Linked DNA regions of Homo sapiens: region 1 is linked to region 2. Evidence: promoter capture Hi-C in human tissues and cell types (Jung and others, 2019). All regions are on one chromosome and are shown on one strand. Each heading gives the region's core, a stretch centred on a gene start or on the middle of the fragment in contact. The rest is flanking DNA. Distances are from core to core; before and after follow the strand shown. Region 1 has its middle 8.6 kb from the start of OR7E24. Region 2 holds the start of ZNF560 (zinc finger protein 560).

What was found. Contacts are between HindIII fragments. The study calls those that stand out against the background at their distance.
Region 1: a contact is called between a fragment that was not itself captured here and the fragment with the promoter of ZNF560 in region 2, in 9 of the 25 tissues and cell types used here (H1 embryonic stem cells, IMR-90 fibroblasts, aorta and 6 more).

The regions. Positions count from the first base shown.
Region 1 is chr19:9,240,792-9,243,835 of GRCh38, reverse strand. It overlaps a transcript of OR7E24 not described here. Among named protein-coding and RNA genes, the nearest start is that of OR7E24, 8.6 kb to the left of the region's middle. The HindIII fragment of the contact is 9,125 bases long and covers 1-3,044 here.
Region 2 is chr19:9,496,699-9,499,917 of GRCh38, reverse strand. It overlaps ZNF560 (zinc finger protein 560), which reads left to right and starts at 1,302. Exons shown (of 10, transcript NM_152476.3): 1 at 1,302-1,380; 2 at 1,703-1,790. The HindIII fragment of the contact is 15,358 bases long and covers 1-3,219 here.

The sequences.
Region 1 (3,044 bases), core at 337-2,836, 260 kb after region 2:
GCATCAGGAAGCTGTATCTTCTAACTGCTTGAGGCAACTTCTCAGATAAACCCTCTGAGGTGAATCCATAAACTTTTACAACTTGCACTTTCAAAGGATGATGCAAGGAGCAACAATTGCACCAGCTTGAGCCATTTGAGGGTGGTGTGGAATTGGAAACTGTGTCAAAGGCAATGGAACCCTGCCTCTAGCATCAGAAAGCTAAGCCTGTATTCAAAATAGATGCCTGCCAGGTGCAGTGGTTCACACCTACAATCCCAGTGCTTCAGGAAGCCAAGGTGGCCAATCCTGGTTTGAGGCCAGGATTTCAAGACAAGCCTGAGTCACATAGAGAGACCCCCTAACTGGGTGTGATGATGCATGCCTGTAGTCCCAGCTACTTGGGAGACTGAGGAGGATCACTTGAGCCCAGGAGTTCAAGATTTCAGTGAGCCACTGTACTCCAGCCTGCACAATACTGTGAGACACTGGCTCAAAAAAAAAAAAAAAAATGCCAGAGCAACATAAAATTGTAAGCATTCATTACCTTTCTGCCACCATGCATTGGGGAAAGTGGATCCCTCAGCTGATGCTGACCATTGGCAGACAGGATGGTGTGTGTGGAGATGGCGGGAGGGTCTTAGGGATGTGGGATGAACCCTGACACCATCTACTACCCCATCCTTCACTGCAGACCCAGTTCTACCAGTTCTCATCAAAAGGGTGAACTGCATCCCAAACACAGTCCACATTCTGTGGCTTCCATTCCTGAAGACATCTCCAGAAAGTCTCAGAAGAAAATTAAACTATATGAGAGAACAAATCTTTTCTATCGTATAATTATTACATGTTCTACAATCTGGGGTTAGATCATAAAACTGCAATTATGGGAAATAAAGGTCAAATAAAGAAGGAAAGAAAGAAAGACAAGAAGGAAGGAGGGAATGAGAGAAGAAAGAGGAGGGAATGAGGGAAGAAAGAGGAGGGAATGAGGGAAGAAAGAAGAGGAAAGGAAGAAAGTAAAAAAGGAGGGAGGGAGGGAAGAAAAGGAATAATCACAAAGAAGGAAGCAACGTCTCAGTTATTCTAGGCAGTTCATTACTATGAATCATCAGAACAAACAAGCTTACAAATCTACATTCCTAATTTGATGTGAAAAATCACATCACTGTTCTTATGAAATAAAGGATAGCAAAGTTGGAGTGTGGTCTCAACGTCAAGTTGCCAGGTTATAGTTCACCTCTATCTGCTTCTTCCTTTGTGGAACAAGGTGAATGAGAAAAGACATGTCAAAGAAATGTTTTCAGGGCCAACTGTGGTGGCTCATGCCTATAATCCCAGCACTTTGGGAGGCCGAGGCAGGTGGATCACTTGAGGTCAGGAGTTTGAGATCAGCCTGGCCAACATGGCAAAACCCCATCTCTACTAAAAATACAAAAAAAATTAGCCAGGTGTGGTGGTGCACACTTATAATTCCAGCTACTTGGGAGGCTGAGACACAAGAATTGCTTGAACCCGGGAGGTGGTTGCCGTGGGCTGAGATAGCGCCATGGCACTCCAGCCTGGGTGACAGAGTGAAACTGTGTCTCAAAACAAAACAAAACAAAAACAAAAAGAAAGAAATGTTTTCAGGATTAAATAAAGCCATACATGTAAAGCAACAAGCACAATCCTAAAAGGGAAACACGTTGCCTTGACTATTGTATGATTTTCATCCAATTTCTTCCAGAGGAAACAAGAACACAACCAAGTTTAGGTGAAGGGTGCTAACATGCAAATGGGTAATTTTTGAGGAAAGCATGTCATCATATCAGCACTCGATATGATAAGTGTTTCAAACAACACGTGAGAACTCTCAAGAGTGGCTCTAAGAAAATGGACCAAAGATGGAACTTTAAAGACTGTATATAAAACGGAAAAGTTAGAAGGAAATTACCAAGGGAGTTACTGAGAGAACCTAAAGTAAAAACATGTAGCAAAAGCCAAATCACAAGTGTTTTGGGAAGAGTAAAAATGAAGCATGTGATTTTCAGGAGAAAAAGAGCCAGGATATTTATTTCTTGTTTTCTTTTAGTTTTGTAGTTGTTGTTTTTGAGACAAAGTCTCACTCTGTCGCCCAGGCTGGAATGCAATGGCGCAATCTCAGCTCACTGCAACCTCTACCTCCCAGATTCAAGCAATTCTCCTGCCTCAGTCTCCCAAGTAGCTGAGATTACAGGCACCCACCACCACACCCAGCTAATTTTGCATTTTTAGCAGAGATGGGGTTTCACCACATTGGCCAGGCTGGTCTTGAACTCGTGACCTCAAGTGATCCACCCACCTCAGCCCCCAAAGTGCTGGGATTACAAGCATGAGCCACCAAGCCTGGTCGAGCCGGGATATTTAAATTCACATTTGCCTAATGGACCTACAACATCCACTTAGTTCTGAGACCTTGATCTGTCATGGACAAGAGGCTGGTCTGCTGAGGAACTGAATGTTCATGAGCAGGGCTCTGTCAAACATAATCTTGCCTTTGTGACCTTTTTATAAACCCAATGATCTCTCTGACAACCACCACTTAGACAGATTGAACCCTAGGCTAACACATTCTGCTGCCAAGTGGATGTTATTAATAAGGTGTTTCACAGCACAACAAACTAAACCCTTCCAAGAACAAACTCGATGCAAAGGAAAGTAGATTGAACCCTACTTTCTGCCATGTACAAAAATCAAATCAAATAAAAAACAGATCAACAGGCCTGGCGCAATGGCTCATGCCTGTAATCCCAGCATTTGGGTGGCCGAGGCGGGTGGATCACTTGAGGTCAGGAGTTCAAGACCGGCCTGACTAACATGTGAAACCCCATCTCCATCAAAAATACAAAAATTAGCCAGGCGTGGTGGCGGGCACCTGTAATCCCAGCTACCTGGGAGGCTGAGGCAGGAGAATCACTTGAACCCGGGAGGCAGAGGTTGCAGAGAGCCGAGATCACACCTCTGCACTCCAGCCTGGGTGACAGAGAGAGACTGTGTCTCAAAATAAATAAATAAATAAAAAGTCAATAGCTTAAATATAATGT
Region 2 (3,219 bases), core at 53-2,552:
GAGATGAAAATTAGTTTTGTATCTATACACCAGCAATGAACAATCAGAAAAGGAAACTGAGAATGTGATCCCTTTTACAAATAAGTTACATGGGAATAACTTTACCCCAAGAGGTAAAATATTTGTAAACTGAAAATTTCAAAACATTACTGAAAGAGTTTAAAGAAGACCTAAATAGAGAGATATTGTATATTCACACATAGGAAGACTCAGTATTATAAAGATACCAATATAACCCGAAGATTCAACTAAATCTCTACCACAAGTCCAACAGTCCTTTCTTTTTCTGCACAGAATAAGTGAAGAATGCCTGGTATCAGTGTTATTTCATAAAGTAGTACAGGAGGCTTTGAATCATTTGATAAGATTTGAGAAATAGTAACAAATACATTGTTGAAGAAGAAAAAAAAATACAATAAGGCCAGGCATGGTGCATGATGGCTCACGCCTGTAATCCCACTTCGGGAGTGCAGGGCGGGCAGATCACTTGAGCCCAGGAGTTCCAGACCAGCCTGGGCAACATGGTTAGATCCTGTCTCTACAAAATAATAATAATGATGATAATAATAATAATACAAAAATTAGCCGGGTGCGGTGCGCCCGTGGTCCCAGCTACTCGGGAGGCTGAGGTGGAAGGATGGCTTGAGCCTGGAGAGGTGGAGACTGCAGTGAGCCGTGTTCCTACCACTGCATTCCAGCCTTGGCAACCGAGCCAGACCCTACCTCGAAGAAAAAAAGAAAAGAAAAGAAAAAAGAAAGAAAAGAAAAAAATTGCAATATTTACAGAAAGTATCGATAACTGAAAACGCAGAGGAATCAATGATTAGAGTTTAGCAAGGTCAGATAAATAAAAAGAAATAAGAGAAAATAAAGTTCTAAAGACGTGATCGAATGCAGGAAGCAGGCCATTTTGTGGATTGGCAGGTTATCAACTGGAGAGAATCCTGAAAGGGGTCCAGGAACGTGGGGAAAGTTTCTAATGAGCATCCTGAGGGGCGAGTCCATCGCCCGACGTTTCGCCTTCCTGGTCCATTCTGCCACCGAAGCCACCGGCTGGGTCTGGTCCCACCTCCAGCCCCGCCCCCGGGCATGGGCCCCGCCCACAGCCCTGATTTAACCCCCACCTTTCTCTGTGGGTCCATTTCTCTCTTGCCCACCCAGGCACTGAGCCGACCCCTTGATACCTCCGCACCCACGCGGAGGGAAACTAGAATCCTGAAGAGTTCCATCCTGTCCAACTGCCCACACAACGAGCCACGCCCCTTCCAATGCCCCAAACGGAAGTGACGTTGCGGCGCGCCAGTTCTCTCTTTTGGTCGCTGGCGCCTGTTTCCTCAGAGCCACTTTTTCCTTTGTGTTGTCTGGTCGTTCACTACTTTGGTGAGGCTCGTGTGGACTAGTGGGTTGGGCGGTGTTTCGGGGGGTGGCAGAGGTCACAATCGACCCAGGGTAATCGAGGAACCTCCTTACAGAGGCCTGGACCACTCCACAGGAGTCCGCAGGAGTCGCGGAGCCATCGGGTGAGGCCACGTCGAAGAGGCCATTGGGACCTTCGGTCCCCTAGAGGAGCCGGGTGGGAAGTGCAGTATGGGCGCGTCCGAGGGCTGTTTTCAGCCGTGTGTTCCCGTCTTCAAAAGTGTCCAAGCGTTCTGAGGCCTTAAAAAATAAGTCTCCAAGGCAACGTTTGTGAATTGTGTTTCAGAGGGAAAAGAATTTTGCCGTTCGCGTTCGATTGACTCCGTCCCCAAGATCCTGTAGCCCCACGGACCTGGCGACTCCACCGTGTTCGGGTGAGCATTGGGAAAAAGTTGGTTTAAGGGGGCAGCTGCTTCCTTTTTTATGCAAACGAGTGTTTCATGTGAGATTTTGGCATTTTGCCTTTGTGAAACCTGTATATTTTTTATTGACACATTACGTTCCGGTAGAAAGGTGCTTTCTTAGTTGTCTAGGGTGTGCGTATTTCTGCATGTGCATATAAACGTTTGTAGACCGCGAGTCTTTCTACTAAAGAAACCTAAGAATACTCAGCCATTCTTTTCATCTGAAGTTCCTAGCTCTGTACGTCTCCAAAGAGCTTCATAACCAGGCTTCCTGGAAGAAAGGATGGAGGGTTTACACACTAATACTAGAATAATCGAATTTACCATTAACAGGATGACTGTACTAAGTGTATTTTTCCCGCATTTTTTTTCGAAAAAACTTAAACCTATGGGTATGTTGACCATCCAGTACCACGAATAAATATCCATTGTAGCTGCACCTGTTTTTTAGCGTTTTGTGTATTCGCCGTCTCGTAAATAAATTTTATGGTGAACAGTTTGAGAGTCAATGGGAAATTCATTGCAGAGATGAAGCTCGACATTTTTTTTTTTTTTTTTTTTTTGAGAGGGGGTCTAGCTGTGTCGCCCAGGCTGGAGTGCAGTGGCGCGATCTCGCCTCACTGCAACCTCTGCCTCCCGGGTTCAAGCGATTCTCCTGCCTCAGCTTCCCAAGTGGCTGTAATTACAGGGGTGTGCCACCGTGCCCGGATAATTTTTTGTATTTTTGTAGAGATGGGGTTTCACCGTGATAGCCAGGATGGTAAGCTCGACATTTAAGTAGTGGGTAATGCCTGACTCAATGATAAGAGTGTTGTTTTACTAAAACCGTAATACTATTTGCATCAAGAAAATTAAAAATAATAATGTTATCTAATATTTACTATGTATAATAAATGAAAATTCTCCAAATTCTTCTAAAATATAACGGAATGTTTTTGGATCTGAGCTCTATTCAAGATTTTTTTTTTTTGAGAGTTTTTTTGAGGCAGGATGTTGCCTTGTTGCCCAGGCTGGAGTGCGGTGGCATGATATTGGCTCACTGCAACCACCGCTTACCACGCCCAACTTTGTGTTTCTGTGCCTGGTTTATTTCACTTAACGTACTGTCCTCCAGTTCTATCTACGTTGTTGAAAATGACAGGATTTCATTCTATTTTTTTTTTGAGACACAGTCTCGTTCTGTCGCCAGGGTGGAGTGCAGTGGTGTGATCTCGACTTACTGCAACCTCTGCCTCCCTGGTTCAAGCGATTCTCCTGCCTCAGCCTTTTGAGTAGCTGGGATTTCAGGCACGTGCCACCTCGCCCAGCTAATTTTTGTATTTGTAGTGGAGATGGGGTTTCACCATGTTGGCCAGGATGGTCTTGATCTCCTGACCTCGTGATCCGCCTGCCTCAGCCT